Linked DNA regions of Homo sapiens: all the other regions are linked to region 1. The links are contacts of gene promoters, found by promoter capture Hi-C in blood cells and fetal thymus (Javierre and others, 2016). All regions are on one chromosome and are shown on one strand. The core of a region is centred on a gene start or on the middle of the fragment in contact, and the rest is flanking DNA. Distances in the headings are between cores, read along the strand shown. Region 1 holds the start of TFAM (transcription factor A, mitochondrial). Region 2 overlaps CISD1 (CDGSH iron sulfur domain 1). Region 3 has its middle 32 kb from the start of UBE2D1.

What was found. Contacts are between HindIII fragments. The CHiCAGO score rates a contact against its expected background, and 5 or more counts as called.
Region 2: a contact is called between a fragment that was not itself captured here and the fragment with the promoter of TFAM in region 1, in 15 of 17 cell types (monocytes, activated CD4 T cells, non-activated CD4 T cells and 12 more). The highest score is 15.9, in monocytes.
Region 3: a fragment that was not itself captured here is called in contact with the fragment with the promoter of TFAM in region 1 in 16 of 17 cell types (monocytes, neutrophils, total CD4 T cells and 13 more); the score reaches 15.0 in monocytes.

What each region holds. Positions count from the first base shown.
Region 1 is chr10:58,384,160-58,388,214 of GRCh38, forward strand. It overlaps TFAM (transcription factor A, mitochondrial), which reads left to right and starts at 1,251. Exons shown (of 7, transcript NM_003201.3): 1 at 1,251-1,489; 2 at 2,061-2,179; 3 at 4,031-4,055. The coding sequence starts at 1,389. RefSeq lists enhancers at 702-801, 995-1,651 and a silencer at 932-1,311. The HindIII fragment of the contact is 8,486 bases long and covers 1-4,055 here.
Region 2 is chr10:58,282,326-58,286,380 of GRCh38, forward strand. All of the region lies in intron 2 of CISD1 (CDGSH iron sulfur domain 1), which reads left to right. Among named protein-coding and RNA genes, the nearest start is that of CISD1, 15 kb to the left of the region's middle. The HindIII fragment of the contact is 761 bases long and covers 1,413-2,173 here.
Region 3 is chr10:58,301,021-58,305,075 of GRCh38, forward strand. No RefSeq gene overlaps it. Among named protein-coding and RNA genes, the nearest start is that of UBE2D1, 32 kb to the right of the region's middle. The HindIII fragment of the contact is 1,776 bases long and covers 973-2,748 here.

The DNA of each region.
Region 1 (4,055 bases), core at 1-2,500:
TTCCATGCCAGAATGGGAGGTTTGAACAGATGACTTGGAAGGTCCCTTTCAACCCTGGGAGTCTATAAAAGGGAAGTGGTTATTACCGCTTAAAAGAAGAAGTAGGCTTAGTCCTACTTCCAGAGAGCCAATGTTTTCATAGTTACAGAAAGGTAAATAGACTGTCAGCTCAATATGACACTGGTAAGAATTTTCTAACAATTACGGCTATCCAACAGAAGAAAGGCTGTCTCAGAAGGTGGTTAGCTCTGAAACAACTGGTATTTAAGGGCTGGAAGGACCCTTAGGTATCTTTAGGTCTTCCTAATCTTTTTCATGCCATTGCCTATACAGAAAATGGTATTTCTATAACACAAATAAAAAAATTATACAGCAATTTTTGACACATCAATGTCTCAAGGCATACTTGTCACACGTTCTCAGGGCTTTGGCTGGGAAAACTGATTTAGTCTAACATCCTCGTTTGCAGAGGGGGAAACTGAATCTTAACGAGGGAATGCAATATTCCCAAGTCAAGACGTTAATGTTAATACTGGAACTAGAAGAATTGAGACTAGCGACTGTGGACAACTAGCCAGTTTCCTCTGCTCAAATTAAGCAAGCTGGAGGCCAGACTGAAAGACTGCAGTAGATGGTAGAATAAACAGTCTAAAGCTATATTGCTTTAAATGTGGTCTCAAGACCACCGACATTAGAACTTGTTAAATTCTGGGGAACTCGCTAAAATGAAGATTAATGGGCCCCACATAGACACACGGAATTAAGCTCTGCGGTAAGGCCTTGGAATCTGCATTTTTAGGTTTGCGAATCCCCGCCTCTCCCGTTACTATTTCTGAACTCCGAGCTCCAGCCCTGGCTTGAACTGAGACGCTCCGCTGGGCGCGCAGCAGCCGCCGATCGGACCTCGGGGTCCTGGATGCAGGACTGTCTGTTACGTACAGCCCTTGTGACCGTCACGGGCGGACACCGGCCAACGCCGGGTTGGGGTGAGGCCGCCGCCGCGGTCCCTCCATCACCCTCCTGGCCCGGCAGAGGAACCCACTGCTCCGGGCGGCCGGGGACAGAGGTGGCTCAACAGCGCCGCCTCGAAGCCAGAGCCCTCCGCAGGCTAGAGGATTGCGGTTTCCCTTCATCTCCGCGGCTCTTATTCCTCCCCCGCAAGGCCGCCCACCGGGGTACGCTCTCCCGCGCCTGCGCCAATTCCGCCCCGCCCCGCCCCCATCTACCGACCGGATGTTAGCAGATTTCCCATAGTGCCTCGCTAGTGGCGGGCATGATAACACACGCCGGAGGGTCGCACGCGGGTTCCAGTTGTGATTGCTGGAGTTGTGTATTGCCAGGAGGCTCTCCGAGATTGGGGTCGGGTCACTGCCTCATCCACCGGAGCGATGGCGTTTCTCCGAAGCATGTGGGGCGTGCTGAGTGCCCTGGGAAGGTCTGGAGCAGAGCTGTGCACCGGCTGTGGAAGTCGACTGCGCTCCCCCTTCAGGTAGGCCCGCTTGCCTGTGCCCTAGGGGCAGCAGGGCCCAGGACGTCCCGGGGTTGGAATGTAGACCCTATCCTTCACTTTCTGCCCCTCCTAGGAGTTCAGAGTCACCCTGGTTCTTTGATTCAGACCGCGACCTTGCCAAGGGGACGGTGGCCTTGAGACCAGGCCTTTATTTACTCTCTTAATACGCCGTACCTTCTTGCTACCCTCCACTCGCTTCTCCCATCCCTCCTCACTGTCCAGCTTTGGATCCTTTCCGCCTCCTCTGCGAATTCGCGCCGAGTCTCCGGCCATCATCTAGGCATTGAGGAGGCGGGGCCCAGGAGCTGGAGTATAGACGCTTTCCTTCACTCCCTGCCCTTCCTAGGAGGTAAGGGCTTTGAGACTTCAGTCCTGCAGACGCTCCCCTCCGTTTAGGACAGGGTTTTAATAAGTCTCTAGCATTCTTGTTGAAGGCGTTGGATACATAGTATCTTGATGACATTTCTTATTTGGGATCTGTGTTCATATACATGTGAATATTGACAGTTAAACATCTGACACTGGTTATTTTCTTTTTGTTTATATGTAGTTTTGTGTATTTACCGAGGTGGTTTTCATCTGTCTTGGCAAGTTGTCCAAAGAAACCTGTAAGTTCTTACCTTCGATTTTCTAAAGAACAACTACCCATATTTAAAGCTCAGAACCCAGGTAAGGAGTTTTGGGGCATATACCCTTTTCTCATGTAATAAAAATGCCATTAAGCAGTTAAATACCAATGTTGAATTGCAGTGCTAAAGCATTCAGTGACTGCAGGAACAATCATTTGATGTCTGTAAAATAGGAAGTTCTATTTTATACCAAATGGAAATGCTTTAAATATAAATGAGAACTAGTAAATGGTATTTTAAAAATAACGTATAGTGTAGAAAGCACCCTAGGAAGAGGATAAAAAAGCTGAATTTGGGGCCTTGTTGCCTTTGGTCTAGAGGACCACTGATGAATTATTTTCTCTTGCCTAGCTCCTCCTTTTTCTGGCTCAGGGAATTGTTAATAAAGTTGCAACTTCTGTGGAAGCATCCATAAACTGTAAGTTCTGTAGAACTGTAAAGTTCTATGCAATTTACTGCTAATTTCAAGAGCTTTCAAGATAAGAAAGGATAAACCTTTTCATCATAGGAGTTCAGAGCCACTCTGGTTCTTTGATTCAGACCTCGACCTTGCCAAGGGGATGGTGGGTTGTAAAGGATAAATCCTTTCTTGTCTTGGGTTCCTAAAAAAAAAACATTTCCAGGTAGGATGTTTGTTGACTCTCTAGAAAGCCTCTCGGCGAGAATAAAAAATGCTCACATCAGGCTGGGTGAGGTGGTTCACACCTGTAATCCCAGCACTTCGGGAGGTCGAGATGGGTGGATTGCTTGAGCCCAGGAGTTCGAGAACAGCCTGGGAAACATGGAAATCCTGTCTCTACCAAAAATACAAAAATGAGGTGGGCATGGGGGCGCAGTGCCTGTAGTCCCAGCTACTTGGGAGGCTGTGGTGAGAGGATCACTGGATCCCAGGAAGTTGAGGCTGCAGTGAGCCATGACTGCTCCACTGCACTCCAGCCTGGGTGACAGAGCGAGACCCTGTCTCAAAAAACAATAATAATTTTAAAAAAAAGCTCACATTATAGGTAAGGAGTTAGTTTCAGAGACATGCTTAAGTACCCACATCTTTTAAATGTAAGAGTTAGTACTAACAGGTATTTTTAAAAATCAATTAATTGCACGCCATCATTCCGGTTAAGATGAAGAAGGAAGTGGAGAATAACAGATTGAATTTCGAATAGCTTGTTTCCAAATGATATTTCTGTTATTGAAATACGAGGCTGTGTTATATGGATCGAGAATGTATTTTGTTGTTAGCTTTTATAAATTTAGGAATTCCTCAAAGACTTGAAAAAGTGTTTTGCTTGAAATATGGAAGGGAAGTAAAAAACTTGAAGCAATTGATCATCCAGCTTCTTAAACTAGTAATCAGCCTGGTGTGGTGGCTCGCGCCTGTAATCCCAGCACTTTGGGAGACTGAGGCAGATGGATTGCTTGAACTCAGGAGTTTGAGGCCAGCCTGGGCAGCATAGCGAAACCCCGTCTCTACAAAAAATACTAACATTAGCTGGACATGATGGCGCCTACCTGTAGTCCCAGCTACTCGGGAGGCTGAGGCAGGAGAATCACTTGAGCACAGGAGGTGGAGGTTGCATTAGGCCAAGATTGTACCACCGCACTGCAGCCTGGGTGATGGCCTGGGTGACGGACCCTGTCTCAAAAAAAAAAAAAAATCCTAGTAATCAAACTGTTGACTGTTTCTGGTGGTATATGGTATACTCCTTAGTTGTTAGATAATAGACTTTTGATAATGTTGGATAAATTACTTACGTTTAAATTAGTTGGATAAAGGAAAGTTAAATCATTATATTAAGTTATGTGTGGTATGGATTGTGCTTTCCTGGATATCTTTAGAAATTAATCCTGAGAGGTAAAATTGTGGCATCTTTTTTCTTTTTATTTCATTCCATAGATGCAAAAACTACAGAACTAATTAG
Region 2 (4,055 bases), core at 543-3,042, 100 kb before region 1:
CCATGGATACCAAAATCTGAGAATGCTCAAGCCCCTGATTTAAAATGACAGTATTTGCCTATAAGCTATGCACATAATCCTGTATACTTTAAATTATTACGTCATCTCTTGATTGCAAATAATACCTAATACAGTGTGAATGCTATGTAAATAGTTGTTATACTGTATTGTTTAGAGAATAATGACAAGGAAAAAAGTGTACATGCTCAGTACCCATACAATTATTTTAGCGAGTATTTTCTATCAGCAGTTGGTTGCATCCATGGATGTGGAACCCACAGATACAGATGGGGCCAATTGTATTTCACAAAAGGGCTATCCATATTTGAAGTGAGAATGAAAGGAGCCAGTATAGAGGAAATGATTAAAGTGACTACAGGGAAAGATACTATTTGAGTCAGCGGTATCTTGACAAAGGGTGGAAGGAAATGAGAGTAACAGCACAGATGTGAAACTCAGCCTTAAAAAGGAAGAGATAGTCTTACTTTCGAAACAAGAAGATGAAAGGACTCTGATGTAAGAGGGAAGGGTATGGGATGTAGTATTGCTAGGTTCCTTTCCCTGCAACTTCAGGTTGGTTACATCACTTGCTGAGTTGTATGACGGCCACCTAGGAGGCAGTTCAAACAAGGACAGCAAAAGAATACAGACTAAGAAGAAAGAGAGGAAAGTCTTACCAGTTAACATCAGGAGCTGAACTGAAATTGAAATGAAATGCAACTGGACATGTTTAGACTCATTTTCTTTCATTTACAGGGTAAGATTTGAGTTAATGATACTTTTGTTTTGTCGTTGGTAGTAGGCTTGATCCTGGGTGTTTTTTTTTGGCGGGAGGGTGTTGGGGGAAAAAGAGAAATCCTCCATCCTGTTAATGGCTTAGAAGTGCATTTTACTGAGTCTTTCTTCATAAAAACGATATTCTGAATGTTGGTGACATTCCTTGGCCAATCCACATAAAGACAGTCTTATAAAAATCTTAATTTATCTTTGTACATTTTCATATTATAGCTACTGTCTTAGGTTTATTGAAATAGGTACATAAGAATGGTATAAAATGTCATAATCTCTAGGTTAGTCTCAAAAATCTCATTACTTCGTTTTCGTTCTCAACCAAAGCAAGCATATTTTTCTGGACAGTTTATGGTAATGAGCCAAAATGGTGCCAGGCAACTTCCTTGGGACAGAAAATCAAAACTCTAATACAAAGTACGAAGTTCAGAGAAGGAAGATAGTCTTTAAAAGAAAATTGTTTCAGGTGGAAGAGATAAGTCAAAGAGGAGCATTTATTAAAACAGAGGCATAACTTGAGATGTGGGGCCATTAAAAAGAAATGTTGTGTTTTTATGAAGATCCATATAGCATTGCTAGCTTTCCAGGTGGAGAGCAAGGACCTCCACTGTTTTTTCTACTAAAGCTTTATTCCAACTTCTTCTAACCCTTTCTTCCCCCACTTTTAAAGATATTTGGGATTTGTAGTGTTCAAATTGGGTTAACAAACATAAAAGGATGTTTTCTGGACATAAAGGAAATTTGATTTACAGACTTTTTCCAGGATTTGTTAATAAACAAACGCTGACATCTTAGAATAAATTAAGTATCAATACTACACGAACTGAATTTAATATTCTTTGTGTTTTTTTCATAATTTAAAACAATTTAACAAATTTCAAAATGTTTAATGAAAAAGTTAATAAAATTCTCATATTTTTGTACATTATTTAATGTAAAAATTACTGTACTTCCTACATTGTATTTGAAAGTATATAATGCCAGACACAGTCGCTTAGGCCTGTAATTCCAACACTTTGAGAATGTAACAGCCAATGTAGTGAAACCTTGTCTCCACAAAAAAATGCAGAAATTAGTTGAGTGTGATGGCATGCACCTATAGTCCTAGCTACTCAGGAGGCTGAGATGGAAGGATCCCTTGAGCCTGGGAGATTGAGGCTTCAGTAAGCTGCGATTGCACCACTGTGCAATCTAATTTAATCTCTTAAAAAAAAAAAAAACTGTATACCCACCACATATTATCTTTCTCCTGCATAGATCAGAAATAAAGCAAGACACATAAGGCAGTAATTCCTAGGGTTAAGTGATATAAAAAGTACTATTAAAAAATACGTCTCTGCACAAAATTATTTTTAACACCTAGTTTGCATTATAAAGGCATAAAAGCTTTATACACTTTAATCGCATGAAAGTTTATTAACAAATAACCAGGATAAACTACTCATTGCTTTTTAAAGAAATATGTGTTTGCTTTTAAGAATATGAAGAAACAGGCTAATTTCAGTTTTTAGGCAGAATTGGGTGATGAGAAAAAATGTATTCTCACTTTTGATATATGACTTTCTTTATATTTTGTAAGATTTTCTTTGTATATTTTTTCTATAGATTTCTCTCCTATTCTGTATATGGAGGAAAATAATTTGAGAAAATGTTAGTTTCTAATATTTTCAACATAAGATTAAAAAATAAAAGTTAAACATGCCATTTCAGTAAGTTATTTAGAAATATTTCATTTTTCAGAAATGTTGCCTGCATGGATTTAATTTATAGTGAAGTGTTTTGTGTGTGCTATTTATAAAAAGAGTCTTTACAATGTAAACTTTTATGCTCACTGTAAAATCATCTGTGTTTGTTTATTAAACATATGTCACTTTGAAATGCTGTACTTTGCTGTGGGATACATTTTAGTTTAATTTTTATCGCCTCTTTCCTCATCCATGCCAAGAAAAAACTGAAAGCTTGACTTTATGTTTTTGCATCAAGGCTTGTTTCTAATATGAATATACTGTGTACCACATCTTATTGACCTCAAAAAAAGAAATAATATAAACTTTACATATATTACATTTACACTGCCCTCTACGACAGGATAGAATTTATATCTGGAAATATAAGATATGCCAATACCTTGAGTTTTTCTGTAATTTTTAGCTAATTTAGTGCCTCTTGCAATTATTTACAGATAGATTAAAATTTGATTACTTTAACATTAAGTAGCCTTTTGGATATCAAAGTTTAAGATTAAATACCATCATTGTGAAGTTTCACTGATCTGTTATGCTCCCTTCACTGCACGTAATGAGGTACTTGTTACTCATAAGGCTAAGAATCCTCTTACTTTACTCTTCTAAATAGGCTTCTTCAAAGCAACAGTGTACCTTAGACTAAACAGTGAAACTCTAGATTCTAGAGTGTAGATACATTCAAAACACCAAGATTAAGGCAAAGATGCTAGCTCTTGTCATTTGACATGAAATAGAAATAAAAGATACAAATATAGAGAAACAAAAAAATTACTGATAATTATTCCTTCTAAGTGTAAAATCCTGAAGAGTTAAGTGAAATATTATTAAATTCTTATTTTTTCATTTTACAATAGAGGATATACTTGTTAAAAATGATTTTATATAGCAAGAATGTTCAGATATGAAAATAAATTATAATAGTGATTAAAAATATGACAGAAATAATCTTACCAGAATATACATGAGATCTGAGGATGAAAACTACAAAAGAAATTAAAACTTGGCAAAAAACATTCTCAAGCTTATCTGGAGGAATAAAGTGATAAAGTTTAATAAAGTTAACAGGCTGGGCGCGGTGGCTCACACCTGTAATCCCAGCACTTTGGGAGGCCGAGGCAGGCGGATCACGAGGTCAGGAGATCGAGACCATCCTGGCTAACACGGTGAAACCCCGTCTCTACTAAAAATACAAAAAATTAGCCGGGCGTAGTGGCGGGCGCCTGTAGTCCCAGCTACTCAGGAGTCTGAGGCAGGAGAATGGCGTGAACCCAGGAGGCGGAGCTTGCAGTGAGTCGAGATCGCGCCACTGCATTCCAGCCTGGGCGACAGAGCAAGACTCCGTTTCAAAAAAAAAAAAAAAAGTAAAAAAAAGAAACAATGAAGGAAAACTAGCCCTACAAAACACTGAAATGTTTAAAATGCAAATATCCCAGCGTAGTAGGCCGATCAACGTAACATAGAACCTATAAATAGGTGCTTTTACATGTAGAATTTATTTTGATAAAGTTACGAATAAAGGTA
Region 3 (4,055 bases), core at 611-3,110, 83 kb before region 1:
GTTTAAACTAGATTTTATAAGAACCTGCCTGCTAATGAATACTATTATTTCTGCATAGGGTTTTATAGAGATTTTAAAATGCTTCTCATATATCATCTCAGTTGATCTTCACAGCAAATCTGTAAAGTTGGTAGGGTTTATTGGTCCTTATTTTATAGATGGCCTGAAAAGTTAGGTGCCTTGCAAAGGTCATGCCATTAACAAAGAAGGTATATAATGTTGACGTGAAGTCCTATATGCTTTCTGCAGCAACAGATCACCTCTTGTATCATGACCAAATGTGAATCTAACTCATTTTAATTCATTTTTTCTCTTCTGTCCCTTCCTCTATCTCCATGCTTCTTTTTTGAAGATCTTCCCTTAATTTTTTTTTCCTGAAGCCTACAAATTTCTCCCACTTATTTATCTCTTTATTATTTATGTAGCTCTGATCCTTCAGGCTACACACCTTTTGCAAGGATATGGATAATGTCTACTTTCCTTTGATTTTTTTGTCCTCCTCCTGTTTGTTCTATTCTGACTCTAGAGACAACAGGCTATTTGGCATAGATTTTATATGTGAATTGGTCCCTTTCCTTCTTATCTGAGGCATTTAAGCATGAGTTGACCCAAATTGACATGCTCTCTGGACTTCTATTCATTACACAGACTTCAGCTTCCACAACATCTAAAATAGTCTCTAACTGGATATCAGATTTCAGAGTGGTTTTTTTTTTTTTTTGGGACTTACTGGTCACAGTGCCACCAAACCTTTATATTCTCAGGTCCACATATCAAAAATCTGCCCTGGATTATAATATTATGCTGCTTTACCACAATATGTCTTCCACCTAATCATATGATCTCCAACAATTTTATTCCTGAATAATAATGTATGTAGACAAATATTTAGCTTGCTGCTTAATCCTGTGTCCTTTAAAAACTGTTCTTCAGATCTTATTTCTTCAGATGTTTCTTCACACATAAACCATAAGCTTTACATCACACTCCATCACAGTCTGTCTAAAACTAGGCAAAATGGGATTTCACATCAAAGTTTCACCTATATAATCCCTGAGGACCAGCTGACTTGGAAATTAATCCTAGCAACAGATAATCTTCGCAGAGATTTCTGATGAAGTGTTTTTTTCCCTGAGACATTGCTGGCAGTCCTTTTTAATTCCGGTGACCTTAGAGGAATAAGCAGATGTCCCAACCCTATCAGAAGTTCCTTTTGCCTTTTCCCCTCCTCAAGGTACAGCAGAATTTATCTCTCTGCTTTTTTTTGTTCCATCCTTTATACATTTAAAAAAAGAGAGAGATGTTACAACATTTCTTTTGCTTCTTTTTCTGCTACCTTTCTACTCTTTGAGACGACTATTATCAGACAAAGCTGGCTGCAGATCTTGGCTCCACCCCACTTTATCACCTGTGTGACCCTCAGCAAATGAACCTCTGAATCTCTGAACCTCAGACTCTGTGTGTGTAATATACAAAAGGTGATAGCTACTTCAAAAGGCTGTTGTCAGGAACAAGGCAGATAATATACCTAAAGCACGTAGCACAATGTCTGGTTCATAATAAGTGCCAAGACACCATGTTATTATTTATTATTATTATTTTTCCTCTTCTCAATTTCAGTTCTTCCCAGTGCTTACTTCCCAATTACTTCATGGCATAATCTTTTTACTCTCCATCAATTATTTTTCAAGGACTCTATTCCCTCTCAAAGTGGACTACTAGCTAACCTTCTACCAAAGCAGCCATCAATATTCAGGACGCCAATAATACTGATTAAATATTCACTGTAATGTCTAGTCCTATATTAGACATGATGACCTCAGAGATGTAAACTGACCTCAGAGAGAAGGGCTCTTAAACAGCTAGAACTCCCACGTTTCGATTCCTGGACAATCCGCAAATAAACATCCAAAGTAGATACATTTGCATTTGTCTTCCCATTGTCTTTTGATTACTCTATTTAATTTTTTAAAAATCTGAAAATAAACATTTATGAATAATGTCCATATGAACTAATGGATTAAATCTGAACCCCTCACTGGATATTCAAGGCCCTTCATAATATAGCCCTAACTTAACTTTCTTATCATTAAATACTCCCTAATGCCTGCCTTACGTTTCAGCCCTTGTCATTATTCATTATTCTGCAGTATTTGCCTTCACATTTTGGCCTCCGTATCTTTGCTTATGCTATTCCATTTGCATATGTCTTCTCTCATTCTTTTTTTATGTTAAACATTACCTATTCTTAATGTCCATTTCAAATTCTCTGTCCTCTGACATCACTGACAATCTTACTCCTTTTGCATTTCCGAAACACTCATATGCAGGTATCTATTCATTCAGGGAACAAGTACAAGGTATCATACTGATGCTTTGGATACAAAGATTAATTTTTAAAATTTAAAACAATTCCAGCCTAGCAGGAAAACTAATAATAATACCTATAAAACAGAATAACTAGTGTTAAAATAAAAGTATATGCAAAGTACAGTTGTTCAGTCTATTCAAATTCTGTTCTTGGGGGCTACAGGGTGGTTAGACTGACTGTCTTTCCAGAGAAAGTGGCACTTGAATTGGCACACAAAGAATAGATGAGATGTGCCCAGTCCAAGAATAAGAGGAAGTTAAGAGGGGCTGTGGGGGTAGGGGATGGGGGGCGGGAAGCCACTGGGGAAAAGAAGAGGCATTAGGTTGCGTAGTATGCTAGTGTAGATCAAGGTTATTCAGTGTAGTTCTTCAAGACCAAGCTTGACTACCCCTCTGGCACTGTCATCCTTCATCTGCAACCCATACCCTAGAAATCAGCTATTCCAATCTAATCTAGATCCCACACCAAGCTGCTCTAATTTCTTGCAACACCTCCCCACGTCTCTCTTTCTTTCTCTTTCTTTCTTTGCTTTTGTCTTTCTTTCTTTTCTTTCTTTCTCTTTCTCCTTCTTTCTTTTCTTTCTTGACAGAGTCTTGCTCTGTCACTCAGGCTGGAGTGCAGTGGCGTGATCTTGAGTTCACAGCAGACTTAACCTCTTGGGTTCAAGCAGTTCTCCCACCTCAGCCTCATGAGGAGCTGGCACTACAGGCATGTGCCATCACACTCAGCTAATTTTTGTATTTTTTTGTAGAGACAGCGTTTCACCATGTTGCCCAGGCTGGTCTTTTTTTTTTTTTTTCCTGGGTAAATCTGCATATTGCTTCCTCTGCAGAGCCATCCCTACTCCTTCAGTCAGGTAAATTAGGTGCCCCTTCCTTATGGCCCTTAGAACTGTGCATAGCTTTTGTCAATAGTTTTACAATGACTATAAACCTTTTTACTTAAGCTATAAAGTCTTATATATTTCCCTGCTGTCTAACATATGTTGAATGAATGAATGAGTCAATGGGCACCTGTTATGTGCCAGAAATTCTGGTAGGCCCTAGGAGGGAAAGTGCAGTAAGACATAATTCTTGCCCTTAAGGAGTTTAAAGCTCAGATGTGTCATAAGGGGTGTATCAGTGGCTGAGGATGAAGGGAGAAGAGAGAAGGAGGTATTGAGTTGTGGGAGCCATTGGCCGAGACTGGAGAGAGGAGACAAGGAGACGGATTCCCTTTGTGTGTTCCCAGCACCTACCAACATAAAGACTGAAAGCTGTTGGACTCATGCTCAAAAGAATCATAGGCAAGTTGTGTTTGTCCCATTAAGCTAACATTTAAAAATCAGAAGATTTTATCCAAAAGATGGATTTCCAACTTCTTTTGAATGATCTGGTAACATGGGACTGTAGTCTCAGAATGGAAAAACAGCTGACCTTTAAAGATAAGGTATTAACTCTCACATTTTTTATTTTAAATAAACCTATTTCAGTTAAGAAATGAATTACTTTAAAGAAAAATAAAGGTAAATAACTAGACAGGCAGTCCTTGGACATGGCCTAAAAAGTGAAGGGGCTCTTAAATGATGGTTCAAGGCCATAGAGAGCAACACATGGGCCTCCAGTTTGTCTACCACTGCCCACCCTATCCCAGTTCCAACTTCCAACATTTTAGTCAAAATGTATACATAAGTTGGACATATCTG